Regions from separate parts of the Homo sapiens genome. Here regions 1, 2 and 3 are each linked to region 4. The links are contacts of gene promoters, found by promoter capture Hi-C in blood cells and fetal thymus (Javierre and others, 2016). All regions are on one chromosome and are shown on one strand. Each heading gives the region's core, a stretch centred on a gene start or on the middle of the fragment in contact. The rest is flanking DNA. Distances are from core to core; before and after follow the strand shown. Region 1 overlaps NAV2 (neuron navigator 2). Region 2 overlaps DBX1 (developing brain homeobox 1). Region 3 has its middle 23 kb from the start of DBX1. Region 4 holds the start of SLC6A5 (solute carrier family 6 member 5).

Region 1 (5,844 bases), core at 859-3,358, 480 kb after region 4:
AATGATGATCTCTATACATAGCTTATTTATTTTTTATTTAGGAGGGGCACACCTTTCAGGCCTAGCCCTCGGCCTGGATGAAGGTGTGGCTGAGCATCCCTGTTCCTGGAACTTGGCATCAGCATCACTGACATCGGAAGCACATGGACCCCCTCCCACTTCAACAAGCATCAAACCCATCTCTTCTCCTTGCTCTGGCCAGGTCAGACTGGAGCCAACTGTGCTGCAGCTCCTGTGGAAGCCTTGGCAGGGAGGTGAGGGGGAGCACCAGTTACAAGCAAAGGCTCCGAGTGCAAAGAGCCTTCGCTTATGATTCAGGAATCTCTGGGCAAGTTACCTAAGGTATCTGAGCCAGCAGTTCGTCATCTGTGGAATGGGGAGAATGGCAACACTTCTCATAGGGTTGAAGTAGGGAATAAAATGATATAATGTGTATTAAACCCTTAGAAAAGGGGCTGGCCTGGCATATAGTAAGCGCTTAATAAATGTCATCTGTTGTCATCATCATCTAACTTAAAAGAGTTTAGCGACAGTGTTCTTGAATCTGCCCTTGTTTACATACTACGGGTCACTTGTTTGGGAGTGGGAGAGGGAATAAAAACTACTTTTATTTATAACTGTAAATTGTGTGTATGTATTTTATATTTCATATAGGAAGTAAGTCAGGAATATGGGGCCTCTCTGAGCTAGGGCCAAGATGTGGTGCAGCTGGGCATACAATCCAGCTGCCCCTCAGGATGCTTTGCAGAGTCTACCCAGATGCGCCAGGCTGCAGAAGCACCATCATCTGGTGTCCATCTGCACAGCCATAACTAGGGAAGAGGCAGAGCTGAAGTATAATGGACAATCCTTGGCAACTGGGATTACTTATTCACTCATTAAACACTCCCAGTGTGTCCACAGTATATGGTTCTGGAACAAAAGCAAGTAAATTCTGTTTTCATGGAAGTCTCAGTCTCATGAGTGAGAAGGATTAATACAGAAGAGAGCTATGATAATAGAGACATATGGCCCTGGGCAGAAAGAGCAGAACTGAGGAGAAATACCAAATATCTAACTCGGTAATGGAAGTGGCTGGACTGGCACAGCTCACTTCTGGGGGCCTGGGGTTGGAAGGAGAAATCTGTTTCTGCATTTCCAAGAATCCTGGGTCTTACCTACACACCTTCTGTGTCCAACCAGTGATACAAATGTTACTGGCTCAGAAAAGATTGTTTAGGGATGGGCTGGCCATTCTTTCCTCTAAATATACTAAATTCTATTTTCTATGTAAGTTAAGACCTCATGAGTTTGCCCCTGCAAAAAATACCTCCGTGACTTTGGCTTTCAGCAATGGTTAACGTTGCAAACGGCTGTTTAAAGTATGCTTCTTTCCTTTGTAAGACTACTGTTATAAATATTGCAAACTAGGTTGTACATGGCAACACAAATAATAAATCCTTAAAAAATACAGTTCCCACTGCAATCTTCAACAGAACCACAGCTACATCCCACCAAACAGTAGGATGGCAGACAACCTGAATCGCCTATTAATATTATTATTATTTTTTTAATCTAGGGACTTAATTAGCTGCTAGGAATAGAACAGTAAATCAGTTGTCTTTTAATCCTGCTACATCTCTTATAATATTTTCTTTCATTAGGTAATGTAAATAATATTCTCTGTTATGTTTTCTTTTTGCTATGCCTGCCAAGAAAGCTTGGGGCTAAATTTAAGGCATGATAATAGTCCTTTAACCATGGGAGGTTTTGGTATATTTGCTTCCTTTTTATTTTACTGGGCTTTTGATTTGTTAGGTCTAATTTAGCAGTGTGACTCTGTGTGGGTCTTATATTGGTAGAGTACTACAATCGATTAGAAATACTACTGTTATTGGCCCGGGTGTTTCTTTTGTTTGTTTGAGACAAGGTTTGGTTCTATCAACCAGGCTGGAGTGCAGTGGCACAATCTTGGCTCACTGCAAACTCTGCCTCCCAGGCTCAAGCCCTCCTCCCACCTCAGCCTCCTGAGTAGCTGGGACTATAGGCATGTGCCACCATGCCCAGTTAATTTTTGTATTTTTTGTAGAGAAGAGGTTTTGTTACGTTGCCCAGGCTGTAACTGCCCACCAAAAGTGCTGGGACTACAGGCATGAGCCACCACACCCAGCCCGGGTGCTTTTTTTTTTTTTTTTTTTTTTTTGAGACGGAGTCTTGCTCTGTTGCCCAGGCTGGAGTGCAGTGGCGCGATCTCGTCTCACTGCAAGCTCCACCTCCCGGGTTCACGCCATTCTCCTGCCTCAGCCTCCCGAGTAGCTGGGACTACAGGTGCCTGCCACCACGCCCAGCTAAATTTTTATATTTTTAGTAGAGACGGTGTTTCACCATGTTAGCCAGGATGGTCTCGATCTCCTGACCTCGATCCACCCGCCTTGGCCTCTCAAAGTGCTGGGATTACAGGTGTGAGCCACCCCAGCCTGGGTGCTTCTTAAAGGGCCTTTATTGTTTTAGCAACAGCCGAATAAATAAGAAGCTTAAACAGTGTGAAAGACTTAGCTCATCTCAATGGCCATGGGACTCATATTCAGGCCTCCTCCCCTCTGTGAGTCCCTCCTGCCCTCAGACCTCTCCCTGTTTACCCTATCATTTGCCTTGGGCTTCTGGTCCTTAGCAATCTCTTCCTCTGCTCTGCTATCGGTAGGAGAGATCAAAGTAATAGGATAGTAGGTAATAGAGGTGGCATCCCAAATCAGAGGGCAAAGTGTTGTATAGAGACAGTAGGTATAAGAACATTTAAGGGGAAAAATCAATTCTTAATCTGTTATCTAATACCAGAAAAAAATTTCAGAGGAGAAGTTTTTAGTGAAAAACTAAAACCATGGAAGAAAATATTGGCAAAAATGGCCCAGTCATTTGGGTCCAGCCTTCCAAAGCAAGGCTGGATTTAGTCACCTTTGTATTTCCAGAGGCTCTGCATCATACCCAACACACAGTAAGTGCTAAAGGAATGCTGAGCTGCTCTGGTGGCTGAGGACTCACCAGCGGGTCACCTTCAGCATCACTGGGGGGCATCTGCTTGCTTGTCGATCCCTCCCGAGGCATGGAGTAGCCGTCGAAGCCGACATCCTCAGGCCGTAACTGCAGCAGGGGAGGCCACTCGTGCTGTTGTGGGCTGGCTGCCCATGGATATGTGTCCATCACCCACTTGGCAGGATCCTCCCAGGGGGCGCGCCTTCCATAGAGCTGAAAACAGGCAAAGAAGGAACAGTCTGGAAGTGGCCCAGATCTCTCTCGTAGCCCCAGTTTTGCAGCTTTCTGAAAAACTCCCCAAATCCAGCATCATGCCTTCCCTGATGGAGTAATTCCACTTCTATTCCATGCTCAGGAAGTCATCCAAGATGCAGACAGTTCGAGGTGCTAAGGCTGAAGGCAGCATGACCCAGTGGTCTAGAATACAGGCTTTGGAGTCAGGCTGATCTAGGTTCATGTCTCAGCTCTGCCACTGACTCACCGTGTGACCCTAAACTCTGAGCCTTGATAATCCAATTTGAAAAACTGGCTTTTGGGGAAAAACAATGACCTGATTTGAAGCATTTGCCAACATCCATGGTACAATCCCACCATGACTGACTTCAAACCACTGACATGATGTCACTGGATGTGGAGTTGGAAAAAGGTGCTATCAGCTTTCAAGAGCCAGCTCTAGTACTCCATTTGGTGCATCTACCCAAAGAATACTGCCTACATACCTTGGGTTCTGGGCACCAACACTGCAGGCAGAGGTCACAATGGCCCTGGCTTAATATTTACTTTGATTTTGTATTGAGACAAGGTTTTGCAATGTTGCTCAGGCTGGAGTATAGTGGCATGATCATGCTCCCTGTGGCCTCAATCTCCCGGGCTCAAGTGATGCTCCTGCCTCAGCCTCCCAAGTAGCTGAGACTACTTGTGTGCCACCATGTCTGGCTAATTTTTAAAACATTTTTTTTTAAGAGATGGGATCTCTCTATATTGCCCAGGCTGGTCTTGAACTTCTGGGCTCAAACAATCCTCGTGCCTTGGTCTCCCAAAGGTCTGGGATTATAGGTGTGAGCCACTGTGCTGGGCTGGTCCTGGCTCAATAAAACCCCGTTTCTTGAAATGGGTCTGACTCTTACAGCCCCTATATAGAAGTGCTACTCCTTTTCAAAACAGCAAATTGCTAACAGAGGTTGCACATAGGCAGTGAAATTATGAGGGCTTCTCTCTTGTCATGTATTTCTCAAAATTCCATAATAGCTAATTGGCTCTTAAAACAGTAAACTATATTATCACTTAATTTTATGGTAAGATCAACACCATGCCTCCAAGCTCCTTTTCTTAAGCCTCAATTATCTAATGGTAAAATGATTTTAGTGACCATTACTAGCAATTTCAAGAAATACATACATTCTTTGAAGAACAGAAACCTAGACTGGCCCAACACGAGGCTCTGTATATTACACAGCTAGGTATAGGCTTTATATTTTTCTCCTTTAACACCACCACATCTTCCAGCTGACTTTGTGCCAGGTACCGTGAGAAATGCTTTACGAATACCTTGCTTAACCACCGTGCAACTCCAAGAGGAAGTACTAATATCCGTGATTTACAGATGAGGAAATAGGCCCAGGGAGGAGAGAAGCCAGAATTGGAAACTAAGTATGTTCAATTCCACGGCCCACTAGTTTGGCCCACTTGGTCCATGTGGCAGGACATGCTCACAGCCAGGGCAGTGTCACCTGTAGTTCTGCAGAGAGGACTCTGCAGGGGGCCTTAGAGCACAGAGACTAAAGAGTCCTGTGGGCCACCACGGCTGCAGTGTGTCTCTAGGGTGGCCACGGCTGTCTGTCTGTCTGTCTGCTCTCCCTGCCCTCCCGCGAATCCTGCCGTGGAGAGGGTACAGAGAGCAAGGTGCTGACAACAGTGTGAAGCTGAGCTCTGAACCAACAAAACCACGTCTTTCCAAGGGGAAGGAGCTGGGGCCACCTAGCCCCACCCCCTCATTTACCAGATGGGCCAATCAAGGCCTGAAGAGCAGAGCCCGCTGAGAAAGGCTGTCAGGCAGAGCCCGATTTGAACCTAGAACCTCAGCTTCCTTTGCCAGGCCTTTTTCCTCTCCACCCCTCCTGACTGACACCACCTTGAACAACTCTGAGTCATGTGAGCCACGTGACTCAGCCAGACCCAGAGCAGGGAGACGCGGAGCAGGCTGTTGGCCAGATATCAGTGTGACAGCCTGCTGGGCTCATTGTCCCTGCCAGCAGTGCCCATACTCCCATGACTGTCTGTGCCATCTGGGACCTCTAGCTATGATTTCTGTCAGGGAAGCTGCCCACCCTGCCCCTTCTCAGATGGGCCCATCTCTCTGTATTCGTGGCTATCACCCCCTCTGCTTAAGTCATGCAGCCTCCTATGACTCATTGCCTTCCCAGACACCAGCACTCCTCCCGTCCTGCGCTCTGGCCCAGTCTGTTGCTAAGTCTTCCTTAACCTGGGGCAGGAGTGAGTCTCAGGCCTAGGAGCTCAGTCTGGCATTTGAAAAGCAATTATTGTGTGAGCAGGAAGGAATCGTGTGAGGGGCATGAGTTTGTGTGTATGTGGGCATGTGTCTCAGGGCAGAAGAGAATGCAAAAGTGGGATATTTGGAGCAGAAGAAGGCTGCTCCACATTAGAACCATTTGTGCAATTTTGAGAAGTTTCTCCCTCTGAGGTCTTTCCCTGTGGAAACTGGGCTGCATTTCCCAAGCCAGACCTCACATGAGGCTGAACCAAACCCTCACAGCTACTGCTTCTGTGACAGCTACTGCTTCTGTCTCCACTCTACAGCCTGGATGAGGACATGCT
Region 2 (5,538 bases), core at 36-2,535, 440 kb after region 4:
CGCTGCCCCCCTCGCCCGCGCACTCGAGCAGTCCCGGGAAACCTTCGGACTTCTCAGATTCCGAGGAGGAAGAGGAGGGCGAGGAACAGGAGGAAATCACCGTGTCCTAGAAGCCGCTCGCACGCCAGAGTACTATTTTTAAGTGCTTTGAAATCGAAGAGGTGGGGTCCAGTCTGCGCATTCACTTTGTCCCCGTGCCCAGATGCTGCCTCTCCCGACGGTAGAAACCATCACCTCATTGAGGGCGCCACCGGCCCTGCGGTAGCCCCAAAGAGACATTTCCTTCCCAACAAAACCAACTCCAAATAGTTCTCCCCACATCAGTTCACTTTAAGTCTTGGTCCCAGCCTTAACTTTTCAGCAAGGACTCCATTCTATTTTGTTTATTACAAACTATTTTAAACACAGTGGGGTGTTCTGTGGTCCCACGGCCTGGACCTTACTGTGAGACACACTCTGCTGGTCGTTAGCAGTAACCACCCTATATGGTAGGAAACCTGTTTATGGAGGAGGAAACCGAGTTGGGAGTGAGAACACCAAACCATATAACTAACTCCAGCACCGTTGACCCTCTAGATCCCTTCACCTCCCCTAATAGGTAGCAAGGGGCTCCTATTTCACTCCAGTCTCTCATTTCCACCCCCTACCCCACTTCTGTCTTCCCATAGATGTTCTCTTAGAAAGCTCAAGATTTTCAAAAAGGAAATATATATATATATATTAGTGCCTTCTGATTCAAGGCACAACATACATATTGAGTCTTCTCTGTCACCTTCCAAAAGCTCTCTGGCGAAAGAAGTGAGTTCTCTAAAGGGGGAAAAAAGCAGCAGTCCCTATTCTTGTATGTGTGTTTTAAAGCTTTTTCTTTTTAATGTCTGTATCCATGGTATACGCACCACACACTCTACCTTGTGCCCTTTTGTTATTCCTAGGGAGGTGTTGCTGAGCTGCAGACCTCCTGGAACTGGGCATGATGTGGACAGAGAGACCTGTACAGTCTCTTTGTTTTTTTTTTTAACTGAACTTTGCTGTCTTTGCACAGCTCTTATGAACTGTACACTATTTTGTACACACAGGTTGTATGGATATTTTATACCAAGGTTATTGTGAATGACTATAAAGGACTGACTAGATTTCTCACTTTTTTGTTTTGCAATGGCTTTTAAACTTTAAAAAGGTAGCTGTTTAATTGCATAACTTATGAAGAAATACTTATTTTGTATTTTTATCATGTACAGATTTTTATATATGTATATATGTATCAAATGAACAAATGCCAAATAAAAGTAGAATGGATGCAATCAATGGTCAACTGATGTCATTAATTCACAGAATGGTAGAGCTGAAAGAAATGGAGCTGTTCTAGCCCTGGGACTGGGTTTTACAGTAGGTAAGCTGAGGATCAAGAGGTGCAGGCACTTATCCAAAGCCACCCAGCTAGTAAGTAGCCAGGCTGGAACTAGAAACCATCTGACTCTCAGGCCAGTGCCTTTTCTGCTTTCCTGTACCTTAAAGTAACCGTATTTGCTATGTTACAAGTAAAGGAGCTCCAGAGTGATACCAAAAGTTGAATCTGCAATAAGCCGCCTGCCCTTCTCTGAGGACTGAAATGATGGGATAAGAGAAATCCATGCAAGTCAAAGTGGCTCAAGTTTGTAATGGTTTTTCTTTTCCTCCTTGAAGGCATTTTTCCTGGTCCCCAGGGAAGCTTCAGAACTGGTCTTGACTCATTCCTTCTGTGTATGACCTAATTTTATCAGGAATGCCATCTACAGGCCTGACATGGGAGCCCAGATACTGACTCTGGGATCTGCATATGAAACAAAAGTTCTTTAAAGACTAGCTTTCAGCAGGAATGATTTCTTTAACCAGCAAGCTAGGGAGTAAAGAACATCTGGTTAGATCCTGGCAGGGGCTTTTGTGCCCTTTGAGAGTTTGGTCTCTGCCCCATCAGCTACACGCACCCATGTTTCTTTGCAATCCTAATCCAAACTCATGGTAGTTTGTATTATATTTGAAATTGAATATATTCTATTTTATATTAACCCTGTTTTCAAATAACACAAACCACCTCCATGCTAAGATCCCCTGCTGGGCTTGTTCCTGATGTTGGTGATCACTTTTCATTATTGTTATATATGATGTTATGAAGTTGAAGAAAATAATTGTCCTCATTTTCATAATCATAAAATTCAAAAAACCTCCCACATGTCCCAATCAACAGACACAAAAGTGTTCAGCATGGTCAGCATTCAACCCAAGTTCTTGCTTTCCTTTCAGACAGGACTCTGAAGGATTCAGGCTGTTTTCTATCTCTCTGCTGTTGCCTGGATGTCCAACATGGGAGCCTGACTGGAAGCCTGACCTGGCCTACCTTTCCCTTTCTGCCAGCTCAAAAATTCTTTCTTATAGTCAAGAATCACATTCAGGCACAGGTGCACATTAGTGTCTACATCTGGAGTCAAAGCACTCTGAAGGCATAACCGTGTTCATTGCAGTATTATTCACAATAGCCAGGAGGTGGAAACAACCCAAAGGTCCACGAATGGATGGATGAATGGATAAATAAAATGTGATATATACATACGATGGAATATTATTCGGCCTTAAAAAAGACACCCTGTCACATGCTACAACGTGGGTGAACCTTGAAGACATTACATGAAGCGAAATAAACCAGTTACAAAAAGACAAATTGTACATGATTCCACTTGTATGAGATATCTAAAGTAGTCAAACTCAGAGAAACAGTAGAATTGTGGTTCCAGGGGCTGGAGGAGGAGGAAACACAAAGTTGTTTGTTGTTCGATGAATATAGAGTTTCAGTCTTACAAGATGAAAGAGTTCTAGAGATTTGTTGCACAACAATATGAATATAGTTAGCACTACTCAACTGTACACTTAAAAATGATTAAGGTAGTATATTTTATGTGCATTTTTTTACCACAATGCTAAATTAAAAATTTGTTTTATTGGAAAAATAACTCACATGCTAGAAGGATTAAAAATCTAGCAACCATCAAAGTTATGGCAGGCAAGTGAAAAATGTGAAATAAGCAATAAGACAATGTAGAAGTCAAAGCACTTAAGATATACATCAAGTGCTTTTTAAAATCAATAAAATGTAGAAAAGGAAAAAACTTGAGTTTTTTTGTTTGTTTTTTGTGTTTTTGTTTGTTTGTATTTTGACTGTTTATTTGTTTTTGTTTTTGAGATGGCGTCTACTCTGTTTCCCAGGCTGGAATGCAGTGGTATGATCTCGGCTCACTGCAACCTCTGCCTCCCAGGTTCAAGCGATTCTCCTGCCTCGGCCTCCCAAGTAGCTAGGACTACAGGCCCATGCCATATGCCCGGCTAATTTTTGTGTTTTTAGTAGAGACGGAGTTTCACCATATTGGCCAGGTTGGTCTCGAACTCCTGACCTAAGGTGATCTGCCTGCCTCGGCCTCTCAAAGTGCTGGGATTCAGGCATGAGCCACTGCACCCAGTCAATACTCGAGATTTTTTTTAAAAAGCATATATTATTTACATATTCACAAAGTGTTACTGAGAACTACAAATGCTGTATTTTGGTTCATTCCTTTAGTGTTTCTTTCATCACAAGGGTGAGGATCATGTTCATTTCACACTGTTCCCCTAATGTCATTCACAATCCCATACATATATTGGTTATTTGATATGTGTTGAGTGAATAAATGAATTATTATAAAAGGAGGGACAGATCTTCTAGTTATACAGGCAGTGGGTCTCCACACACAGCAACCACATGGGGCTCATTGTCAGGGTGGCTGCTTTAAATTTTTTATTATTTTTTTTTTTATTTTATTTTTATTTTTATTTTTTATTTTTTTTTTTGAGATGGAGTCTTGCTCTGTTACCCAGGCTGGAATGCAGTGGCGCGATCTCGGCTCACTGCAAGCTCCACCTTCTGGGTTCACGCCAGTCTCCTGCCTCAGCCTCCCGAGTAGCTGGGACTACAGGCGCCTGCCACTAGGCCTGGCTAATTTTTTTTTGTATTTTTAGTACAGATGAGGTTTCACCGTGTTAGCCAGGATGGTCTGGATCTCCTGACCTCGTGATCCCCCTGCCTCCGCCTCCCAAAGTGCTGGGATTACAGGTGTGAGCCACTGCGCCCGGCCTAAATTTTTTTTTTTTTTAATGAAAAAGGAGAAAAGAGACACTCTAGAATCTAGACTGCAGGCCTGGAAGTTTTAAACTTTACAAATGAATGTAAAGATTACTTTGGCTGATAAGAAAAAGGGAGTAAATTAACAGGTCAGATGTATTTTTAAAAATCAAACCAATAACTTTAGTCCAAAAAGACTGAAATAGTTACATGTATAAGCTAAAGAATAAGAAATAAATAGTAAAAGAAAAAAAAAGGAGATATTTATTGAGCGCCTACAATGTGACAGGCAGTCAGTCTCCTGGGTGCCTTACACCAGCACTACTCTGTGCATAAGGACTGCTTGAGGGTCTCACTGAAATGCAGATCATGATTCAGAGCTCTGGGTATCCGCTTTGCTAATGTGGTTGGTCCACAAAACACACTGTAGCAAAATTTACATGAGTTTTAACCTCACAGTAACCCTTCTAAGGTAGATGCATGTTACAGATGCAAAAATTGAGGCTAGGAGTTTTGGTGATATTCCTGTGGTCACCCAGTCAGAATTCAAATTCAGATTAATCACAATCCTACTCCCTTGACTAAACTGATTAAAAACACATTTAACCGAAACTCAACCAGTGGGAACTCTCTAATAGAGCTTTATGTCTTTTAATGTTGTGCAGTTATGTGAAAAAAATAAATTATCAATGGTTATTAAAACCTTTCTTATGCTTCTAAATGTCCTACCCCACCACGAGATCTCCTTCCTATGGTCTAAACCTGTGATTCTCAAACTTTAGTGTTAAAACTCCTTTATATTCTTAAAAATTATTGAAGTCTTAAGATTTTTTTGTTTTTATAGGTTTTGTCTATTGATATTTATTGTACAAGAAATTAAGATTGAGATAAATTTTAAATATTTTACTAATTAAAACAAATCCACTAAATATCAATAAAATATCACATTTTATGACAAATATATTATAAAACAAAAAAAGTTAGAAGAGTAGAGCCGGGCACGCTGACTCACGCCTGTAATCCCAGCACTTTGGGAGGCCAAGGCAGATGGATCACATCTGGCTAAGGCAGATGGATCACACACAAGGCTATTCTCAAATCCCTGACCAACATGGTGAAACCCCATCTCTACTAAAAAATACAAAAATTAGCCGGGTGTGGTGGCACACACCTGTAAGTCCCAGCTACTCGCAAGGCTGAGGCAGGAGAAACGCTTGAACCCAGGAGGCAGAGGTTGCAGTGAGCCTAGACTGTGTCGTTGCAGTGAGCCTAGACTGTGTCATTGCACTCCAGTCTGGGTGACAGAGCAAGACTCCATCTCAAAAAAAAGAAGAGTGGCACTGTCGTACCTTTCTGCAAATCTTTTTTTTTTTTTTAAGACAGTGTCACACTCTGTTTCCCAGGCTGGAGTA
Region 3 (5,604 bases), core at 2,043-4,542, 460 kb after region 4:
ACTCCCCTGAAATTTCTAAAATGTCAATGAAAATGAATAGAAACTACTCTACTAGGTAGAAGTCACCAGGGACCCTGACAAGACCACTTTTCCTTGTGAGATGGATGTAAAAGCCAAATGGAAGTGAACTGAGGAATAAAATGCACCAGAAACAGAACCAAATATATATGAAAGCTTGCTCTTGATAGAGAAGCCATTTCAGATCAATGGAGAGAAAACACACAATTCAATAAAGGATGCTGAGACAATTGGCTCTTCAAAATCTTGTGTACTTCTGATCCTGAGCTCCTATCATATGCAAACGTTTACTCCAAATAAATTAACGAAAATGTAAAATATAAAATTTTCAAATTGGAAAAATATATCTAGTAGATATACATAGATTTACTAAAAGTGAAGAATGCACACAGGATACACATCCAATTCTTGCCTGGAAAGAGGGAGAAAGGGAAATAGAGCGAGGTGGAGGTCATACAGAGGACTTGAATTTTGCCAGGTTTTCACCTGAAGGAAATATGGCAGTTAACATTTGTAAATTCTAAGTAGTAAGAACAAATTTTATTATACTACCCTTTGACCTCTAACATATTTAAACATTTCTTAATGCCAAAAAATTTAATAGGAAAAAAGGAGGCGGACAAAAATGTAGGTTAGTTTTTTTAAAAAAAATTAAATAGCATAACATAGTATAGAATTGAACAGAAAAATCTTAGCATGCATTCCATGAGTAATGTTTCATAAAACATTTGTTCCCATTTTATATGTGTGTTTGTGTGTGACTGTGTGTGTGCAGGTGTCTGTGTTTGGGTGTGTGTGCTTGTGTGAGAGTGTATGTGTGCATTGGGCTGCTTTATAAAAATATATTTCCTACTGTGGGTCATAGTCAAAAAAATCCGAAAGCTGAATATAGACAAGTTTTTCAAGCCGGTTAGCTATAAAAGGAAGCAGACCAATGAAACAGTAGCTGAGAAGGTACGTGTTGTTAAGGAAAGTTCTTGATTTGTTTTGCCTTTGTCTTATTTTAAGTCTATAGATACTGGGCTGATGCAAGATAAATCAGTAGGGAAGCAGAGTTTGGTGATTCAGACTGGGTGGGGGCCATGAAAATGAGAAGAGAAGTGAGTGAATGGATGGTGCAGTCAGACATCCAGCAGGCTTTGCTGAGCACTGATTACATACACAGGTATAATAGTGTGTGTATGCATGCATATGGGAGAGGGTGCAGAAAAATGCATAAGATACATTCCCATCCCTTGCACTCCATGCCGTGGCTGAAAGTCTGTGTGATGTGATGCACAGTCTTTGACACAAAGTCTGTGTGCTGGCAGCCACACAGAACAGGCCAGCCAACAGGCAGGCAAGACTGGGCGGTAACAGTGTGCAAGTTGGAGCTTAGGCAAAAGACAAGGGATAGAAGTGACCAAGGGGGAGAAGCCTTCTTAGGGGACATGGACCTTGAGGTGGACTTGGGGATAGGCACTGAATGGGGGCAAAAAGCAAGAGGGCATTTGGGAAAAATGGTATTTCCTTGTGGAGGGGATATGGGAGGAAGAAGAATTGGGTCTTGGTAAAGGAGAGCAGAGGGGAGATAGACCCTGGGCTTTGGATTCCAGTCTGGAGAAGGGGACTGGGACGCGAAGATGGAACTCTCTTACTCAAGGCCGAGTTACAAGTAGACAGAATAATAACATTTACAGAACATTTACTGCATACTAGGTACTAGTCTACACAAACTACATGTATTTACTTTCCAAGTTATTCCTCATAAGAACCCTACAGGGTAGGTTCTATTTAATATATTTATTTATACTGACAGTGAAACAGAGGCACAAAGTGTGAAGGAGTTTGCTTGCTGGAGGTCACACAACTGGCAACTGGCAAGCAGAGCTTCAGACCTAAGCAGTCTTGCTCCAGAGGCTCTGCACTTCCTAATGTGTGCCACGTCTAACAGTGAGCTGCTTTATGGTAGATGGCACTTAGTAGGTATTCAGGAAATGATTGAATTACAAAAGGAAGGGCATGACTTGGAGAAAAAAAAAAAATCCCTACTCTGTCCTTCTATTGTGCCTCAATTTTTTGCAATTTAGCCTGAGTTACACCCACAAGTCATTCATTGAGAATCCACTATGTTCAAGTCATGTTACTGAAGTCAGTTAAAACACTGCCTATTAATACTTCTGTGACAAAGATACTTGTGACCTGACTGAGAAGAGCAGCAGGAGCCAGTTGGATCCAAACTTCTTTGATTTTGGACTAACTTGTAAGTTGAAAGACATTGTCAAAGAGGCAGTTGTTATGTGAGTAAAGAAGACAGAAATGTCTTAGTTCACATCTTAGCTCTGTCATTCACTGCTGTGTATGCCTTGGCCGAGTTATTTAATTTTTTAGACCTCAGTGTCTCCATAAATAAAATAGCAGCATATTGGTAGTGGTCCAAGACAGGGAGAAAAATAGATGATATTGTTTAATTGGCACTCCATGACCATATTTTGATCCATCAATTAGCATTGAAGAAGCTCCCACATTTATTTTTCTTATTTTTTATTTTTTTATTTTTTTTGAGACAGAGTCTTGCTCTGTCACCCAGGCTGGAGTGCAGTGGTGCAATCTTGGCTCACTGCAAGCTCTGCCTTCCTGGTTCAAGTGATTCTCCTGCCTCAGCCTCCCGAGTAGCTGGAATTACAGGTTTCTGCCACCATGCCCAGCTAATTTTTGTATTTCTAGTAGAGATGAGGTTTCACCATGTTGGCCAGGCTGGTCTTGAACACCTGACCTCAGGTGATCCACCCACCTCGGCCTCCCAAAGTGCTGGGATTACAGGCATGAGCCACCACACCCGGCCTTATCTTGAAATAGGAGGAGAAACTAACATAGACCAACCTGTCACCAAGTAGCTCACATAGGATGCGAAGGCCCATAGTTAGTGGCATCGTGTCTTCATCAGGGGATCATGCCTGCACCTCAGGTTCTGTGGCACAGCTTATCATGTTCTGCAGGTAGACCATTCCATGCTCAATACTGTAGAGATTTATTTTGTGCTTTCTTACAAACTCTCATAATCAGTCCCTACCACCTTTCAAGGTCAGTTCCCACTGGGAAAAGAAAGGTTTTCTTTTTACATTCTTTCCAAGTTTTCTGCTTGCCAATATTCCTTGGAGCCACAATAGTTCTCCTACCACTTCCAGCTGCCCTAACTTCTTTGCTCATGACCACTCTGGGATCTGGGACCCCATTTCTCGGTAGGATACTGCCATCTCTGTATAGGCATCAGTGGAGGAGTGAAAATGGACCAGGTCATGTTTCTCATACTGCCTTGTTCTGTTATTCTCCTACTCAAACTTCCTTGACATTTTGGCTTTGGAGCTGGTTGCTTTATGGTGGCAAGGTGGCTGCTGCAGCTCCAACCATCACTTCTTCATATGACAGCATCCAAAATGGGAAGCAAAAGGGACAATGGCAAAGGGAACTTCTTGCATGAATCTCTTTTATTTTGGAGGAAAGTCCTTCCCAGAATCCTCCTTATGTCTCTCACTGGACACAACTGGATTCTTGCCATGTATAGGCCAATCACAAGCAATGGAGCTACCATAATCAGACCAATCATGGTTTATTCTCTGTCGCTGGGCACACTGATGCTTGAACAAACCTGGGGTACTCTTACTCAGAAGGGTAGGGTGGCTGTTGTGTAAACAACCACCAGATGCCTCTTCCGAGACATCTAAGATAAATTCTTTAAGCAATTAGCCAATTTTGCTCCTCAAACCCATCCCATCATTTGGCCCCCTTTCAAAAGAGCCTTCTTAAGGCATTAACTGGCTTGAAGCCTTCCATCAACTTTTTGGAAAACTTGACCCCTTTCCCCTAGGGAACATTCTACTTCCAGTTGTATCTCCTTCCCCTCCTGTTTCAATTATTACCCCCACCCAAGCTCACATGGAATGGAAGGTAAAGAAGAGGTGTCCACATGACAAGTGAGGTGGCTGGGTGCTCCGAGTCCAGGGAGACTTTTGATGTCCCAAATTCTTTGTTTTTTTCAGATAGAGTCTCGCTCTATCACCCAGGTTGGAGTGCAGTGGTGTGATCTCGGCTCGCAGCAACTTCTGCCTCCTGGGTTCAAGCTATTTTCCTGCCTCAGCCTCCTGTGTAGCTGGGATTACAGGTGTGTGCCACCACACTTGGCTAATTTTTGTATTTTTGGTAGAGACGGGTTTTCATCATGTTGGCCAGGCTGGTCTTAAACTCCTGATCTCAAGTGATCCACCTGCCTTGGCCTCTCAAAGTGCTGGGATTATAGGCGTGAACCACCGCACCTGGCCTAATGTCCTAAATTCTTCAGTGAAGTCCAGGAAGAGTGCTTCCAAATCTAGTCTTCACAAGTGGGAGTTCATCTCTTCATTCTCCCAACTGTCTTGTTAGCAGATGTTGAATCAAATTTCATCAAGCACACACATACACACACACACACACACACACACACCACACACACACACACACGCCTCTATCCTAATGACAGACACTAATTCTCAGAGGCAGTGAAGTTTAAACTAGTGGTCATTCCAGTTTTATAGCTCACAAGTCAGAAACATAAACAAACTAGTGGTCATAAAGGATAATGTCTCCAGGGGCCAGACAGGTGACAACAATCAGTGAAGGGAGCCTGTACTACTGGAAGCTCTGATGAGCCCAAGGATGCAGGCCCTACTGAATAGGACAATTTCTGCTCATGTTAGCTGACTGTTTTCAGGTTGGAATGAAGACTAGATTGCCTGGATTTTAAGACAATCCAGAAATCTGGAATTTAAGTGCAATTTCCCAATTAAAGAAGTTTGTGAGTAAAAATATCTGTGAGTCATAGCAGGACATTAAGCCACCAGTTTTTAAGCCCTTGTCTAACCCATAATAAGGAAGAGAAATATGTTCTCATTTGGTAATACCTCCTCTCTCATAATGAAATCTCTGTAATATTATGCAGGCCTGTACCGTGCCTTTCCTTCATCTCGCCAACTCTTTTCAAATGGTCCTCTTCATGCCTGCCTGGCAAAAGAAAGTGGCCTGTAGCTGAGCAGTATGGTTTGGCATGGTAGCACCTTTAGCCTTTACTTGTCACAATGACTCACGGGTTTTTGTTTTATTCAATTATCTTATGATACGTAGCCACCGTTGCTCTTGTTGATGCTCAGGTCTTTCAGATCTGGCCAGGGATGCCCCTTGAAGCTGGATCCGGTGTTCTCCACTGTTTTTGTTTGTTTGTTTTTAGCACCTCCATGTTTTCTGATACAAGATGTTCAGCCTTGCCTTGTAATTTTTCTGTCAAATACCTGGAATCAGCCACTTCTCTAAGAAGTTCAGGTTTTTAAAATTAGAGAATGGCATTTAGAACTCATGGTGTGGTGGCTGCGATCATTTGTACTATAATATCATTGCTTCTATGCTCTTTCAGGGAACAGATTTATAGCTATCATCTCTCTATCTATCTTTCTGGAGCAAGAGGGAGGTCTTACTAGTAATCTTTAATTTAATACAGCAATGTGGTGTTCTTCCTTTGTTCTCATTCCATATGTTTTCTCCCTTCTCTCTTAGTGAATGAGAATTATTATTCCCCCA
Region 4 (5,439 bases), core at 2,217-4,716:
GACAGGGCTGAAAATAAGTACTTCCAGAAACCAAACATCTTTAACATCCTCCCTCTAATCCTCCCACACACAGACCACCTCCATTCCTAATCCCACCCTTCAATCCTTCCAGGGCTGCAAAGGGTGGGAGTTCCAGCTCCTTCTGCCGCAGTGCGGAGGTTAAGCAAGACAAGTGAAACAAATATTCTGCTCCACCTGGGGTCACACTGTGGGATACATGCTGTCAGAGGCAGATAATATACATAGAAAAACACTCCGGATGTGGACCCCGAAAGGAAAGGCAAGTGGGAGATTCTATGTTTATTTCTAGTTCTGACACCACAAGCTCCTGCTATGTGGGCCTGTGGATAAGTGTGAATGTGTATGTGTGTGTGTGTGTGTGCAAACACTAAAGTGACTAAGGATAGAAGGGTTGTATAAATCCTAAACCTCACACAGGCACAAATTTTGGTCCAGGCCCCACTGCTGGATATATGCATAGCCCCTGAGGCCAGGAAAGGAGAGGAAATAGCAGAAAGGCAGGCAGTGAGAAGGGAAGAGCTGAAGTTGATGAAAAAGGACAGAAGAAAGAAGAGATCAGAGAAGGAAGGAGAGAGACGAGAGGGAAATTGAAGAGAACAAAAGCCTATATGAGAGAGTGGGCCACCAGCAAAAGCTGCCTTTATTCATAACCCAAGGATTGGGATTTGCTCTGTGGGTTTTTCACGCCTCTAATTAAGTAGTAAAGGATCAAATGCAAGAGGGGATTAAGATTGGTGGGGCTTGAAGCTTATACAATTGAGGGAGGTTACTTTAGGGAAAAAAATAGAAAATTATGGCAAAAGTAGACACCAGGTTTTGGAAGGACCCAGGCAAAGGACAGGCCCCAAAACTAAAGCTTCAGTAGCCTCAGGTAAACCCACCTCGCATCAAATGAGTTCTCATGTAATAAAGGTAACTGGCAGTGTAAAGGCTACAAAACTTAAACTATTATCCTCCTACCCCTCCATCCCCAGCCACCACCACGTGGCTTTGTTCTGAATTTTAACCCTCTTTTTGTTTAATTAAGAAATTATTTTTGAAAAGAAAAGACAGTCATTGGCAGGAGAGGGAGTCTGTCTGCATAAAAGGGTGGAATCTATCTTCCTCAACTCTTTCGTGGATCTGGACCTGTATTCCCGCTACCGCCAAGGCTGGGAAGGGGCAGGTCGTGGCCCCTCTGGCAGGGTCACTGCAGCCCTCGCGCCCTGAACTGCCGACCCCAGCGCAGTGCGAGCTTCCGAAGCCCCAAAGCCGCCTCCCGCATCCATCACCTGGCACTGCCAACCGGTTTCCCCATCAGCATACGTGCACCCGCCACGGCCCGGCTGGCCTCTCTCGCGCAGCTGGAGAGCAGGACACTGTGCGGGCCGTAATGCAACCTGCTTACCTGGGTGGCAACGGTGGCCACGCTGCCCGGGAGCACGGACGTGATTCCATCCGTGGCCAGCACCACGGTGCTCTGGCTCATGTTCACCCAGCCCACAACAGGGGTATTGTTCCGCTCCAGGGTGCCCTTGCCCACACTCACGTTCGCATCCCCCTCCGGGCCTCGCAGAAAAGGGATCTTACAGTGCAGCGCGTTGCCGGGCCCGGAGCTCCCGGGAGGGGGCGAGGCCTGCGCGCCTTGCGCCTCTCTCAAGTCCCGCAGAGCTGCAGAGGCCGCCTGCGCCCGCGGGCTACTGAGTTTGCAAGACCCCACTCCTGGCCGCTCAGCCTCGCAGGCTCGCGCGTCCGCTGACTGGAAAGTTTGGGCGCCGGTGGAAGCGGACCTGGGCACACGTGGCGGCGGCGGGGCGGCAGCCGCGGGAAGCTCCTGCTCCGGGCTCGTCCTGGGAGCGCATGGGCCATCCGGGTGGCCCTGCGCCGCCGCCGCCTCCGGGCTGTTGGCTGGCAGTTTATTCATTTCCTTGGGAGCACTGCAATCCTGCAAACACAATGTCAAGTTCGTGCAAAACAAAGTCACAACAGCTTTTAAAATACCTGTATCTAGATATGGAGACGTTCGCAACTCAGGTCCAGACACAATATCTGGGGAAGCAAATTGGAATCTGAACTTTTTTTAAAAGAAAGGCTGCAATCAGTATTTCTCAATTTGCCCGTTTCATCAATAACCAGATGACAAAAAGAAGCTAATATTCCCTCCCTAGTGGAGGATGAACTAAGAAAAGAGGTAGAAATGTAATTTTGTAAGGGTAAAGGGGGAATGGAAATAGCCCTGGAGTCATGAGCTCCCCTCCCTCTTTGGATTCCACATCACAGCTGTGGGTGCCCGCATCCCCATCACCACTGTAGAAAGATTCTTTAATTTTCCGCCCCATTTCCTTTGTCATTCAACAATGCACACTGCCTTTTTCCCCCATAGACAAGCTGTGGCCACAAAGCTGATGCCCTGGCACCTGCGAGCGCTTGAGGCCAAATTGGTTGAGTCCCAGCGCTCCACAACCCACCTCCTCCCGCCAGGTAGCAAAGACAAGGTTAAGAATCACGATCAAAATAACCACAAAAAAACCTACAACGATAATAAACTAAATTTAAGACACAGAGTAGTAACTAGATTTGTTATCTTACACAACTCGTATTCACTTCCAGATTCCCAGACATGGAAAAGAATATGCAAAGCTTTTTGTTCTTTTGTTTAGGTCTTCTTCTTCTTCTTCTTCTTCTTCTTCTTCTTCTTCTTCTTCTTCTTCTTCTTCTTCTTCTTCTTCTTCTTCTTCCTCTTCTTCTTTTTTGCGTAACTATTCACAGGAGTCTAATATCCTTCACAACTCTAAGCTTGCTTGAGTACCAAAACTCATGACTAATTTTTATTCGCTTTTTCCCAATTCACTTTCAAATGAAAAGAACTGCCAGCGGTGGTTTTTCTATCCACTTTCTCCCCTCGTGTTATCTTTCACGGCTTCCTAAACATTAGCACCAATAATTATTATTACACTGTAAGAATAATCCTATTATCTTCGCCTCCACCGCACTCCTCTCGTCTAACCCCCTTTCACAAACACGCAGAATAGAACTCCTCGATTTGCACAAATCTAGGTACCTCGGCTTCAGCCAGCATTTGTCTCAGTAGCCTCTAGGACCCAGAGCAACTCGCCTCTGTACCGGCATCTGGCTTTTCAGCACCGAGGACAGTGCCCGGGATCGGGTCTTTAGGAGCCACAGCCAACCTCTCAGCTCTACAGCCTAGGAAACCTCTTTGCGACCTCAGGTGACGCTCACAAGTACAAATACCTAGGGCTGCGAGAATTGTTCTCCTCGTCGCCCCCTTTCCCCCCACCCAATGCACAGACATCTCCAAAAGAAATAGCCAAAACGAATCTGCTTTCCCTGTCCCCTCAGCCCCCTTTCCTCTTGAAAGAACAAAAGCAAACACTCACCATGTCTGACACAGGCAACAGACTGAACTGGTGGAGGGTGAAACCCGCTATTGACAAGACTGGGTTTGGCTCAGGCAGGAGAGGCGCTTTCTATATCTCCTTGGGAAAGGCCGGGTTTGCGTCAGTGCAAAGCAAGGTGCCCTTGGTTTGACATTTTCTTGATAATACAAGTTTGATAAATCATTACCCCCTTGGATTCAAGTTTTAAAGGGACAACAGCCTAGAGTATGCTGGCCAGTTGTCACTCCAGCGGGAGGGGGCTGCGTGTTTGGCGTGACTCATGTGGTCTGATTACTAAACCGAAACCGGCAGGAGGGGAAGACAGAAGTTTGCCTCCTCCTAATTAAGGGAAACATGGGAGGGACACGTCCCACTGCACCCAAGGCAAGGCGCAGCCGCCAACAGAGTGGATCGGGCTGTAGAGGAGGAAGGAGGGGGTTAAATCACTGTCTATTCTTTCCCTTTCACTAGATTCCATTGCTGTCCCCCCTTATCTTCAGGGATTCCGAAAATATTACTCCGAAAGAGGTTGAGGGTCTGCGCATAGCCCCACAGCTCTGCGATGACTGAAGCAGGCATGGGTCCTGCATTTATCAAGGTGTACCTACCTAGCATGTATGTGGACTTCAGATTCTCACATCCCTACCCTTCCAGACAGTCAGTCTTGGAGGAATCCTGGGGTTTTTGCTTAAAAATTGTGATCTGGTATTTCCGTTCCTATTTCTGTTATCACAATCAAGAGAAAATTCTGAGTATAACTGACCTTTTTCATTGTATTTTTAAGCTTTTCTGAAGACGTTTTAGAGAAAGAAAAACGAAGTTTTTCCAACACAGACCTAGTTCTTAGGTCACTTTCAAAGTCAAGGGAAACCCATTCTTTCTTTACAGTCCTTTCAATAAAATCCTACAAGAGCCAGGCCTGATTTGGCAGCGCGGGACCTTAGAGACCGTCCAAATCGGGATGCCCAGCAATGCGGGGGAGGGGGAATGAGAGCTGGCAATCTGCAAAGCCATGCCAGGATGTTCAACCGTACTGTGGCGGGGATGGGAGTGGGGGTGGCCATGGCGATAAAAAGATGGACTTTCTTGTTGTGTGTACAATGCAATAGCTATAATCAGAAGAGGAAAAAACGCCTTTACAAAGAAGGTGTAGTTTGGAGACTAGAAGGGGATTATCAGCAAAATGCTTCCCTTCTCTCCTTCCTTGCCGGTCTAGCTCGGGGAACCCCTGGCCTCGGGGATGAGGAGCCACAGACAGCACGTTTTCCCTTCCCTACTGCCAACAGCCCAGCCCACTGCCTCGGGGTGCGCGCCGTCGCCAGCGGCTGGGCCGTCCCACGCGGCGGGAGGACAATGCCGCGGCGGCCGCGGCCGCAGGCGTAGGCTGCAGTGGCAGATTGCGGCGGGCGCCGGGGGCACTAAGGGGCACCCTCCTGCTCCTCTGGAGAGCCCGAGAGTGTTTGGATGCCTCCGCTGGTTGGCTTTCCCGCCTAGCCCCTCTAAAGGGCAGCTGGCTGGGGACACACGGTCTGCATTGCCTTTGGTGGGGGCAGGAGGAGGAGATCTTTCTTTTGAGACGCCTTGAGGATTTCAGGTCGCTTTTTATTGCAGTTTTGAGCTAACGTCTATTGAGATCTCAATACTCAACCATTGTGCAAGGGATATCCATGAATTATCTCGGTTAGATTTAGCAATGGCCTTTCAGAAACTATACCAATTGCAAAGCTGAGGAAATTGGGGCTCAGAAAGTCGCTTTTGAACCCTGGAGAAGATCCCAACCACCTCCCGCCGGGCTGTCGCTAGGGTCAGTCGCTCTCTCCCCGGGGCCCGCTCGTAGGGAGAGGTCGGGAACGAGGGTTAAGAGGGTAGGGTGGGCTGTGGTGGACTCTGGCTGGAGGAGGGTCGTCTGAGTGGGTGGGACTGAGAATTCCGCAGGGGTGCCTGCTCAAGTTCCGGCTGGCGCTGAGAAGCACCCCGCAGGCTCTTGGCATCTTGGGGGACGCCAAGGGGACCTACGAGTGTTTCTGCCTAAACAGTCCCC

The links. Contacts are between HindIII fragments. The CHiCAGO score rates a contact against its expected background, and 5 or more counts as called.
Region 1: a contact is called between a fragment that was not itself captured here and the fragment with the promoter of SLC6A5 in region 4, in 1 of 17 cell types (naive CD4 T cells). The highest score is 6.5, in naive CD4 T cells.
Region 2: a contact is called between a fragment that was not itself captured here and the fragment with the promoter of SLC6A5 in region 4, in 3 of 17 cell types (fetal thymus, erythroblasts and endothelial precursors). The highest score is 6.7, in fetal thymus.
Region 3: a contact is called between a fragment that was not itself captured here and the fragment with the promoter of SLC6A5 in region 4, in 4 of 17 cell types (fetal thymus, total CD4 T cells, erythroblasts and 1 more). The highest score is 7.2, in fetal thymus.

Annotation. Positions count from the first base shown.
Region 1 is chr11:20,111,970-20,117,813 of GRCh38, reverse strand. NAV2 (neuron navigator 2) reads right to left here. Exons shown (of 38, transcript NM_145117.5): 37 at 3,019-3,222. LOC107984418 (a long non-coding RNA gene) reads left to right here. Exons shown (of 3, transcript XR_001748477.2): 3 at 42-624. Among named protein-coding and RNA genes, the nearest start is that of DBX1, 46 kb to the left of the region's middle. RefSeq lists enhancers at 2,636-3,135, 3,136-3,637, 4,442-5,341, 5,342-5,844. The HindIII fragment of the contact is 813 bases long and covers 1,702-2,514 here.
Region 2 is chr11:20,150,786-20,156,323 of GRCh38, reverse strand. DBX1 (developing brain homeobox 1) reads left to right here. Exons shown (of 4, transcript NM_001029865.4): 4 at 1-169. The coding sequence ends at 110. Among named protein-coding and RNA genes, the nearest start is that of DBX1, 6.9 kb to the left of the region's middle. RefSeq lists an enhancer at 1-54. The HindIII fragment of the contact is 850 bases long and covers 861-1,710 here.
Region 3 is chr11:20,134,396-20,139,999 of GRCh38, reverse strand. No RefSeq gene overlaps it. Among named protein-coding and RNA genes, the nearest start is that of DBX1, 23 kb to the left of the region's middle. The HindIII fragment of the contact is 6,232 bases long and covers 177-5,604 here.
Region 4 is chr11:20,597,635-20,603,073 of GRCh38, reverse strand. It overlaps SLC6A5 (solute carrier family 6 member 5), which reads right to left and starts at 3,466. Exons shown (of 16, transcript NM_004211.5): 1 at 3,399-3,466; 2 at 1,409-1,945. The coding sequence starts at 3,401. The HindIII fragment of the contact is 1,386 bases long and covers 2,799-4,184 here.